Linked DNA regions of Homo sapiens: region 1 is linked to region 2. The links are contacts of gene promoters, found by promoter capture Hi-C in human tissues and cell types (Jung and others, 2019). All regions are on one chromosome and are shown on one strand. Each heading gives the region's core, a stretch centred on a gene start or on the middle of the fragment in contact. The rest is flanking DNA. Distances are from core to core; before and after follow the strand shown. Region 1 overlaps VWC2L (von Willebrand factor C domain containing 2 like). Region 2 holds the start of ABCA12 (ATP binding cassette subfamily A member 12).

The links. Contacts are between HindIII fragments. The study calls those that stand out against the background at their distance.
Region 1: a contact is called between a fragment that was not itself captured here and the fragment with the promoter of ABCA12 in region 2, in 2 of the 25 tissues and cell types used here (small bowel and spleen).

What each region holds. Positions count from the first base shown.
Region 1 is chr2:214,444,539-214,450,025 of GRCh38, forward strand. All of the region lies in intron 3 of VWC2L (von Willebrand factor C domain containing 2 like), which reads left to right. Among named protein-coding and RNA genes, the nearest start is that of VWC2L, 36 kb to the left of the region's middle. The HindIII fragment of the contact is 6,694 bases long and covers 30-5,487 here.
Region 2 is chr2:215,134,863-215,140,718 of GRCh38, forward strand. ABCA12 (ATP binding cassette subfamily A member 12) reads right to left here and starts at 3,764. Exons shown (of 53, transcript NM_173076.3): 1 at 3,278-3,764. The coding sequence starts at 3,346. The HindIII fragment of the contact is 12,690 bases long and covers 1-5,856 here.

The DNA of each region.
Region 1 (5,487 bases), core at 2,127-4,626, 690 kb before region 2:
TAACTTTTTAAATAAGTTGACAAAATAAACATTTCTTGTGAAAATGTTAAATACATGAAAAAATGCATTTGGGGCATTGGAAAATTCAACCTACCAGCTGTATTAATATATAAAGATGTAATTTTAACCAATGTGCTATTGGAACAGAAATAAACAGAAGTGACTAGAAAGTAAAAAAGTAACCCATGTGTGTATTACAATTTAGTACACAATTAAGGTGACATCCAAATATCTGATGAAAGATGTATTGGTCTAGAAAAGTTCATTTTTTGAAAGTGAAGTTACATTGCTACCTTACCGATTATATAAAAAGATAAAAATAAATTTAAGTTGGATTAAAATTCTAAATCTAAAAAATCAAATCATAACGGTATGTTGAAAATACTGTAAATATTAACTTGTTCTGAGAATAGGGAAGCTCTTCCTAAACATAAAAGCAAATAGTTTCTAAAAGAAAAAATGTATGGGTAACATATAATTTCATCTGTAAGTTTTTTCATATATTAAAAGAAGATTGCTATCATGTTGAGTAGTTAGGTTAAAAAAAATAAACAAATATAAATAAGATAGCATCTAATTTAGGAAAGGTAAAATGTAACAAGCATTCTCACACACTACTGGTAAGAGTGTAAATGATATATGCTCTCTGAAGGGTAGTAAAAATGTATGGACCTTTAATGCAGCAATGACACTTTAAAAAATTGATCAAAAATAATGAGAGAAGAATTTTAAATGGTGTATATGGATATAGTTGTTATAAAGTTGTTTGATAATAGCAACAATTTGGAAAAACTGAAACCTAAATATTTAAGAATAAAGTGACTGGTTAAAGAAACCACAGTATATCCATATGAACTACTAAGAAAGCATTTTAAGTAATATTATAGAAAAAAAAAGCATTTCCCTCACAAATATGTTTACAATATTAAACTAATGAGCCAGAAACTATACATGTATGTACATATATGTGTGTATGTATGTATGTACATATATACATATTTATAGGTCATATATAGAGAGACCCTATTTTTACTAAAAAGAAAATACATGTATAGGAAAAAGACTAGAAGGAAATACTTCAGAATATTAGTACTGCTTAACTCTATATGATATGATAACTTTATATGCTAATAGATAATTTTTATTTTCTTCCTTTGACAAACCTGTATTTTCTAAATGTCCTGCAACAAGTATATATTATCCTTGTGATTTAAAATTACTATTAAAAAAGAAAATAAAATTTATAACCAAGATGATATAATTTTTTCTTTTACTAAAAAAAACAATAGCATGTTCCTTATGAGAAATTATACTATGACTTCTTATTAAAATTTGTACTCTATCAACTAATTAACCAACTAATAATTTCTACCACTTGACTTTTCAACACCTTTAACTATGAGATTCTTTTCAAAGCATTTAGAAAGCCTCATTGACCATTTTATGCATCTATTAGGGAAATTGCTAAAATATTCACTTAAGTATATCCATTTACATTTTTATGAAACTACGTGAAAAACCAGCTTTTTAAATTTGAGAATTGGGTGCAAATTGTCCACCTTAATTTAATATGTTCTCACTTCTTTTTAGGTAGACAATTAGTGATAAGCATAACAGACATGAAACAAACACACTGAACATGAAACATTTTCTGGCAGCTGCACACATATGTTGGCTGCAGAGCCCCTGAAGCAGTTCATGATGCAAGCATGTCCTATGAAAGGCAGTTTCAAAGTCTGCATCTCTACAACTGAAGGTCAGAATTATCATATTCTTATAAAGTAGATGTCAAAACAGAATAGTTATAAATAGCTATTTTAATGAGCCACAAACAATAATTTCCTATTTCTTTCATAAAGCTTCCTCCAAAATATGAAAGAAAATATTTATGTTTATATTCTCTTATACCAACAGGATTCCCTCTTAATTCATCAGCAAATTAGATTTTAGAAGTATTATTTTACAATGTTGACACAATAAAAATTAATGCCATGTTCATTTCCTGCTAATCATATCGCTTCTAGAATTATTAGGGCTACCTGGTCTTCAAGAAAATGCAGAAAGGAAGGCTAACGTGCAAAATTTTGAATGTTTTCTGTGTTTCTCACTTAAGATATGGAAAATACTTGGGGACTATTTTTTCCCTAAGTAAATGTTTGAAATGTTGAGTCCAGTCCCCCCACAAAACATACATTTTTTCCCTTGAAAACAGACACATTAGGAAGTTGCATGCACTGCTTCAAGTGGTATGCAATACTTTAATGTTCAGTACCCCATTCTGCAGGACGCTTGAGAGACTGATGGAAGGGTGTTGAACACATACATATGGAATTTTTTTTCATAAACATTCATATAATCTTGGAGATAATCGGACTCAAAAACAGTAGCTAGGCATACTGCTGAGTGTATCCCTGAAAACTATTCTTAAACCTCGTTCCTGTCTCATTCTTGAACCTCTCTTCATTTACGGTTTTTATAGAATATTCCTGATTTCTAGGATTGTAGACAGACTCTCTAATAAACTACCTCTGTGAAGTGTGCATGGTAGAAACTGGGAAACTGGGATCACCTTGGGAGTTGGATATAGTTTCAGAATTAAATGGGGTGGGGTCTGACTGGGAAGTGAAGGCATTCGCTGTTGCCAAGATTCATGAATACCTAGAAATGATATCTCTCCAGAGAGGTTCAAACCACTGGCTACGGGAGAGCCTCATTGAAGGTGCAATACAACTCCTCAGTCTCAGGAGTGGTGAGTCTCCAGTCCACAGTGACCCCCAAGCTCTTCTTCACAGAGCCCAGACATCCATGTATCTCTCAGAGGTACCCAGAGATCAAGTGGTAACTGCTCACACTGAAGGCACAAATTAAGGTACACAGTCTAACTTCATCTAAACCTACTCTCTGATGTAGACATGCTAGGAAGTTACATTCACTTCTTCACTTCACATCAGCACTGGGATATAATACCCTAAGCTTTTCAGGGAGTTGGAATCCCAGAGCCAACCGCGCCCTACCACCCCACCACCATACCCTGAACTGGTTTTGTGTAACCTTTGTGCAGGCTGACAAAAATAAAAACAAAGCTGTGGTGTGTTCTTCATCCTTAAATGTAAATGCCTTCAAAAGAGTTCAGGCAAGATGAGCCTAGAAGGCCTCTAGAAGGTTATCCCTCTATCTTCCTCAGAAGTTTTACACATCTGGAACAAGAGACTCTAATGTTCAGATTCCTCGGGCACAGAGTCCCAGATTCCCTCCGTCTAAACCTTCTTGGGCTCTTGCATCTCCACGTCATTGTTGAAGAAGGATGCTGGGTGGTCCTGAAAAGATCCCAACCCCTCCTTTCCCAGCAGTCACTGTCTTACCCTCACTGCCTGGCTTGGAAATCTTAGGACTGATCTCATGATGCCCTTTTTCCCTGCTTGTCTCAGACCCCACCAGAAGCCCAGAACCACCAGGGTATCCCTCAAACCCTGGACTGTGATCCCCATGTGGTTCTATGAGCTATGAGTTAACAACCCAAATCACCACTGACGAGTCCATTTTGCTGCTTTATTGTTCTCCACCATACCTACTGCCACATAAACAACTACTTTACCTATTGACTTACTGGTCTCCCCTCCTCAGGACACAGGGGTAAACCCCATGAAAGCAAAGATTTCTATCTATTTTGTTCACAGTTGTATTCTTACTATGTACAACACATTGTAGATGCAAATATATATGTTTGTGAATAAATGAATCCACACACACCCATATTGTATCTTCAATATAGCTGTAATTAAATAAGAAGTCTGATTCTTTGAGTTATTTTAAATTACCTTTTGAAATGTATGTTTTCTATTTCATACAGAATAACTTTCACATGGAGAGTCTAGGATGCTTTTGGTGGTGGGAAGGAAGGTGCTTCTCAGAAGATTACTTTTATAATTAAGTTTGGTTTTGTTTCCCACTAAGATTAGCCTGCACATATTAACTGATAGGAGGCAGAGCCAGATGATCTAGAAAAGACAGACGGATTGCCAGGGGAAACCAAGTCTAGCTTGAACTTTTACTGTTTCATAATCTCACCATGGATACCTAAAGCTCCTGTTTATTAAGAACAGACTTCATGTAATGTGTGGGTCGCTTTAGTGCAAAATTAATGTTATACATTACCCAGTATCATTCTCAATGATTTATCAAATTCTAAAGATAAAGTATGTTAATGTCTGCAAAACACCTGAAACATACCAGGGCTTAATAAACAAGAGCTAGTGTTACTTAGTAGTTACATTAATTATCATCATTAGACCAGCCATTGAGAAAACATGTGAAAAGGGCAGCTGTTCCCTTAGAAGGTACCATCAGCAAACACCCCTTTCCATCCTATTCTCCCAGCACTCAATGCCCTCTGAGTCATCCTACAGGCACCTATCCCAGATGTCTTCTCCTCTATGGGCCAGGACCCTCCTGCTGTTCCCGTCATCCAAGGTTTGCTCTTCCCCACATTCCAACTAATTGGGGCCATATTTTATGACTCAGTCATCTGATTAACCCCAAAATGCTCCACCTTGGGAAAATATAAGTAACTAAACTGGTGTGTTTAATACCTGATGTCCCAGCTATTTCCCTCAAATGTTTAGTGGCATTCATTATGAAAATTGTAGAAGGGAAAGGGATTGAGAGTGTGAGAGTATTTTTGAATGTGTGTGGATACCTAGATATACACTGTGGTAGGCTAGAAGTATTGAGCAGCTTTTCTGTCCATCTCAGATAACATAGCATAGGGGGTTGATTGGACTTTTTAAGAGGTTACAAAGCCATGAGCATTGATGAAATATGTGATTTGAAACATTTTGGTAAAATCAACAGAATTTAATGTGAAGACAAGAAACAAAGAAAATGTGCCTTGATATCAGAGCAGTGGGAGAAAAAATTGATTGTAGGAGATAATAGTTAATTCTAGATATCACATTATGTGACTTAAAAATAAGTCAGAAATATGGCATAAAACGCAAACAAAGGAAACTTGCAACCAATACCTCTTTTGACACACAGTGATTGGGAAATCCTCCAAGAATTGCTGTGGCAGTGGCAGGAAGCCCTTGCAGCGAGACCTCTGATATTTAAATGTAGCTCTGAGCTGCTTCAAATCAATCTATCAGAAATGTTAAACCTCTTTTGAAATATATTTATGGTTGGATACCCCTCAATTGAGAAAGGGGAAATAGGAAGTTCCTGCATACATACTTATTTTGCTTACATGTGCTTCATTTGTACAAGGTGATAGAAAAGAGCAGCCATAAATGCTACTGTTTGTCAGGGTGGATAACTAGCCAGCCCCGAGTCTTTCCTTCCTTTTACCCATTACTTTCATATGTTTTGCAGAAAGGTCCCTAATGCAATATATCTGCCTTCTGGAAGGCTAAGCTCGGTTACTTTCCCATGTTGTTAAATAATTAGATAGTTGGCAGTGTTGCGTCCAAATTTTGAAAGCCTCCTGCTCCA
Region 2 (5,856 bases), core at 2,514-5,013:
GTCTCGAACTCCTAGGCTCAAGTCTTCCACCTGCCTTGGCCTCTCAAAGGATTATAGGCATAAGCCACTGCACCTGGCCAGCATATACTTTAAAAAAAAATTATTTATTTTTCTTTTTTTGAGACAGAGTTTCACTGTTACCCACGCTGGAGTGCAGTGGCACAATCTCAGCTCACGGCAACCTCCACCTCCCAGGTTCAAGCGATTTTCCTGCCTCAGCCTCCCAAGTAGCTGGGATTACAGGCACCTGCCATCCCACCCAGCTAATTTTTGTATATTTTTAGTAGAGTTTTGCCATATTGGCCAGGCTGTTCTTGAACTCCTAACCTTAAGTGATCCACCTGATTCGGCCTCCCAAAGTGCCGGGATTACAGGCATGAGCCACTGCGCCCAGCCCCAGCATATACTTTTATAATCAACACATTTCCTCATTTATCTCCAATCTACCTTAATATTTTTACTATATCTTTGTTTTCCTTTGCTTTTTTCATGTGCCATTTGTTTCTCCATTAATAGATTCTTAACTTCTTCTCTTTTGAATTAGTCTTCCCACCACCTTGCTTTGTGATGGAATTTCTAAAAAATATTAGGCAAAGTTGTCATGGTGGTGATGCTTCCATTTTTCTTTACCATTAAGTAAGGACTATAAATTTCCTGTGTCCATAGCTTAATTTCTGTTTTGCTGTGAGTAAAAGTATACTTTGAAAGTACAATTTTTAGAATGATTATGAATGTAGAAATATAAATGCTTGCATTTTAAATTATTATTTGATGGATAACCAAGTCTAGTTCCTACAAAAACACTCTTCTCCTCAAATTCATATGTACCTTCATTTCACATTTTGTCTGTCTTCTAATTTGCCTATAATTTCTCTTTAGACAATTTTTTTCATTTTATCCCCCTTTAGATCTTTAATTCCAACTTTCCAACCTCTTATTCCTCTCTTCCTTTTTAAGTGTAATGCCATCGCACATATATCCTTCCCACACGTGTCTTCAAGTCTTTTTCCCAACATGGAGAGACAGAGCTGACCCTAGGCGAAACTGTGAAGGAAATTTCTCTTTCTTTGCCCTTTCCCCCTCCACTCAGAATTGTCCTTCCTTTTCCTTTTGCATCACCATCTTCTACAGGTCTCTCTTGTCCCTCTGGTTGGTTATAATGGATTCAGGTTGGCCTCTGTATTGTCCCAAATTTTGGACTTTCTCTGACCTCACTCTGCCGTGAAGACTTATCTGTTCTGGTTTCCATTTGTTTAAGGTGCACTTAAGATCTGAATCATTCCCTGTCCCAAAATGAACTAATGGCTCATGTATTCTCCCTCCCTAGGAAAAGTATAGTTACCAGAGTTTATTTAGGGGTTTTGACTAGATGGGAATAATGCAAGGTGTCATGCTTGAAAAACTTTTAATATCTGACTTACATCTCCCCTAAATATTTCACCATGTCCACAAACACTGACTAAAATGAAGAGAAACCCCAAAGGAGAAAATTGATATACCTACTACTTTCAAAATGAGGAAAAAAATTTGTCATTAAAATTTCTAAAGATAAAATTTCTCAATGAAAAACAAACATCTTCACCTGAGATTTGGGTGTTTTTTTTTCCTATAACTTTTTTTACACAAAATAGAGTTGTAAAAGAAACAGACCTCAGCATTCAGATTATTGACAATAACACGTACAGATTTTAGTTCCTCTGTGTTTTTGTTTTTAGCTATTGAATTTTTATCACTTACAAACTTGACTGTACGTGGATTTCTTCCTTTTACCCACAGTATCTTCTCCTGAATTTCCTTTCATTATTAATCTGCATAAAATATGACACACATTGCCTCAAATCCCTCACTAATCTATTTGCTAAGTGTGTCAGTATTATAAAGCACTTTGAAATACATTAGCACATTTGGTACTTCCCCCAATGAGTTAGATGTGGCAGGCTTCATGCCACATCTAACTAATCATGTCACGTCTAACTCATCATGCCACATCATGGTGGGAAAAACAGTGCTTAGAGAAACTGTCTTAAGCTACTTAAGTTACATGAGGAGCAGTGGCAGGGGCCCCAACTCGCATGCTCTGACCACATGACCACATCCACACACCCAGGATCCTTTCCCTGCTTATGCCACACAGAATCAACCACATGATAATTATGGGGAGGTTTTCTTCTGTGCTTTTTTTTTTCCAGTTAAAAAACAAATAAAAACATGAATGAGTTTATAATTTTATATTCAAACCCCACACCCATGCAATCACATGCCTTAGAATTTTAAAACCCTACCCACAAAATTCACAAGGGTAAATGAACATCTACTTCCTCCTCTTACTACACACATCAAAACACTCAAGTAAAGTGTCAGGCAATCCAAGCAAGCCTGGAGCGAGATAAGGTGCATAGATAAAGTGCTGGTTTCTGTGTGATGCATATTATTTGCATAATATTTACATTACTCATTCAAGGCTGGGAATTACCACTTTAAAATAAAGTATATTGAATACCTTTTTGGATTTCCCCGATTTTCAAACATTCTTCTGAATATATAACAACTCCCAGAAACCAATTCCTTTCTCAATCATCCTGGGAGCCATCTGATGAGGATCTAATAGCTAACTTTGTAATTAGAACGCAAACATTAATGTAAGAGTACAAAAAAGACGTTGCAATGAGCAAGAGAAGATAGATTGTAGTAGTAAAGCTAAGTGATTCAATAATATTCTTAAAACATAGCACATATACATACTCTTGTTTGGTATTCCCAGTAAATGATTTTTAGATACTAAAATTTCTCAGTAGCTTTTCTATACTAATAGCCTTCAAACTATTTCTGTTCTGTATTTTACCTTTCAACCAAACTTTCTATGGCTTTCAGTTTTCCAGTATATTTCTTCCCATTTATTGTACATTTCAAATAATACTTTTCTTTCCTCTATCCCATTTTTAACTACATTAAGAAAAATTCTGAAAGCCTTTTGGCTTGAAACCAGAATTCAACGTTCCAGTTCAGCCAGTAATGAGTCATGTTCTTTTTTTTTTGCCCAGGGCATGTCCTGGTTTACTCTTTAATTTACTGAAATGAAAAGGCTGCTTTTGGGGGCATGTTAAGACTCGCTCCATTAGCTATAAGACAGATAGGGGGATGAATTCTAAATATCTTACTTCCTGCTTTGGAAAATGCCTTTAAACTCTTCTGTTTTCACTTCTCATTAAGATCACATTTTAGGATTACCTGGCGTATTGCCCCATGACCCATACTCCCACACTTTTTTTTAACTCACCGGCTGCCTTTTTACACCTAGCCAATTTTTCCAGACCAGGATCTGAAGCTGATGAAACAGGGAAGCCATCCTTCAAATGCCCCAAATGAGAGATTTCCTCTTCTTTTCTCCACTCCACAAATGAAGAACTGATGCCCCGTCCAACTTGCTGTATGTCAGTGTATCAGTACCCCTTTCACGGCATAGCTTCCTTGAGGGCTGGGGTAAGAAACCCACAGTTCTTCTGTTTCTGCTGGATTTTTCCCTGTGGTTAATCCTTAACCAAGAGGCACTTCTCAATCAACTCTTCTTCCAAAAGAAGGACCCAGATCAGTATCTTTGGGTGGCTTATGCTTATTTTAAAATAATATCCAGTTGCTGCTTGTTGCACGAAGTCCAGACTCAAGAGAGAATGAGCATCATTCAGATAATGCCTCACTGAAAAAAAAAAAAAAGCAGCAGCTGAACCCACACCTCCTACTCTCCATGAAATTAATTGCCTATCCACACCTTAGAGAACATGTCACCTGCACTGGATGCGTCACAGGGACTAGGGGGTGGGACCTTTGCAAGGCCAGTAGGACTTGTCCTACATTCTCTTGTCTTCTTTCCTGCACACAGTGTCTGCTCTAGCAGAGGCAGGGCACAGAGAGCATTTCACAGACACTGGGCCCAGTGACTCTTTAATATTAAAGTGTCATTAAAATGATTTAAGTCAATAAGGCCAGAGCTTAGCTGCAAAGCTCTGAGCCTCAGCCCATCATTAGATATACTAGGGAAAGTGTCCACCTTTAACCTAAAGTTGAATGTTTCGATTTTGGGGGAAGAAACTATGTTGGCCAGGTCCCACCTTTCATCACAATGTACTAGGTTAAGCACAGGGCAGAAAAGGAAAGGTAGGCTGTAGGGGACATAAATTACAAACTGGAGTCCCTCAATTCGTGAGTGGAGATTCACGTGTCTATTACAGACAAGCCACATTGTTTCAGGCTCTTATAGTGAAAGGGGACACAGGCTGATCCAAGACATTTCTATTTCCTCTTTCCATGATACATTCCTCCCTCTCTAAGATCCTGCCTTTCAAAGTTATCCCCAAGTTGACATCTTCAATGAAGCCTTTTTGGATATATCCCATAGGATAGATTCTCTTGCCTTTGAATCATTCTTTGTTGCCCTCTCTCAAGGAACTTAAAGTTTTTGCATTATTTTTATTTGTGTATGTCTTATTTTTCCTACAAGATTATAAATTATTTGAGGACATGGACTATTTTATATCACAGTACTTTACATATCATTAGTGTTCAATACTTGCTGCTGAATGTAATTGAATAAACTACTGGAGCCAAGGCTAGTAGGGTGAAGCTCCCCTTTGATCCTCACACCTACCCTGACTAATCCAGACTTTACTTGCAAAATCCGTTAAAGCATTAAGAGTTCTCCCTTCGCCAGGTGCGGTGGCTCATGCCTGTAATCCCAGCAATTTGGGAGGCCGAGACGGGCTGATCACTTGAGGTCAGGAGTTCAAGACCAGCCTCGCAAACATGGTGAAACCCCGTCTCTACTAAAAACACAAAAATTAGCCAGGCATGGTGGTGGGCACCTGTAATCCCAGCTATTTGGGAGGCTGAGGAGGGAGAATCGCTTGAAACCGGGAGGCAGAGGTTGCAGTGAGCTGAGATGGCGCCACTGCACTCCAGCCTGGGCAAAAGAGTGAGATTCCATCCCCCCTCCAAAAAAAGGAATCTAGCACAGGTCCTGCCTCATAGTAAGTAGTCAATTAATTCTATTAATTGGGTAGCAATGTTTGCTAAGGACTTATTGAATCATCCTAGGAGTCCTATTATATAGAAACTGTCATTATTCCCATTTTCAGTGAAAGAAAGTGATATTTAGAAGTGCCATAACTTGCTGGATTTCACCTAGTTAGCAGTGAGGACAGTGGGAACAGCAGAGAAGGAACTCGAACCTCGTTTCTGTACTGTTAATCTCTGTGCTATGTTTTCTCCAGTCCCATGTATTACACTTCACAGGAAGAGCTGAGAAACAAATGAACATCAGGGATTTTCCCTGTTTCTCTAGGCAGGTCTATAAATCACTTGTAGAGATTTTTTTGTAAGTACACGCATGAAAAATTATGGCCAAAATGAGTTCACAAAGAGTAGTTGCTCCAGGAATTCAGGAGAAGGAAGGCTGCTCTTTTAGGCTTCTTCATAGAGCCTCACGGCACTTCCCAGCCTGGCTCTTGCCAGCTTCATCAGTTGTCTCTCCACCTTCAGCCCTCCCTCCTGCCATCTGCTAGAATACTTTAGATGAGGACTGTTCACTTTCAGGCTTTGGTCATGCTGTTCCCTCTGCCCAAAATGAAATTGTGCTCATTCTCAAATGACTGACTCAAGTGTAACTTCCCCTCTGAAGCCTTTTCCAGCACTTCCACCCACCACACCCCCACCCCCGGCTGAATTAATCACCCCTTCATCTGTTTTCCCATAAAGCTTTGTTCGCACAGATAGCCAACTCCCTTATTACCTTCTAGTATAGTCAGTCTGTCTCTCTGTCCATACTCTGAGCCCCTTGAGTACAGGGACCAAGTCTCATGGAAC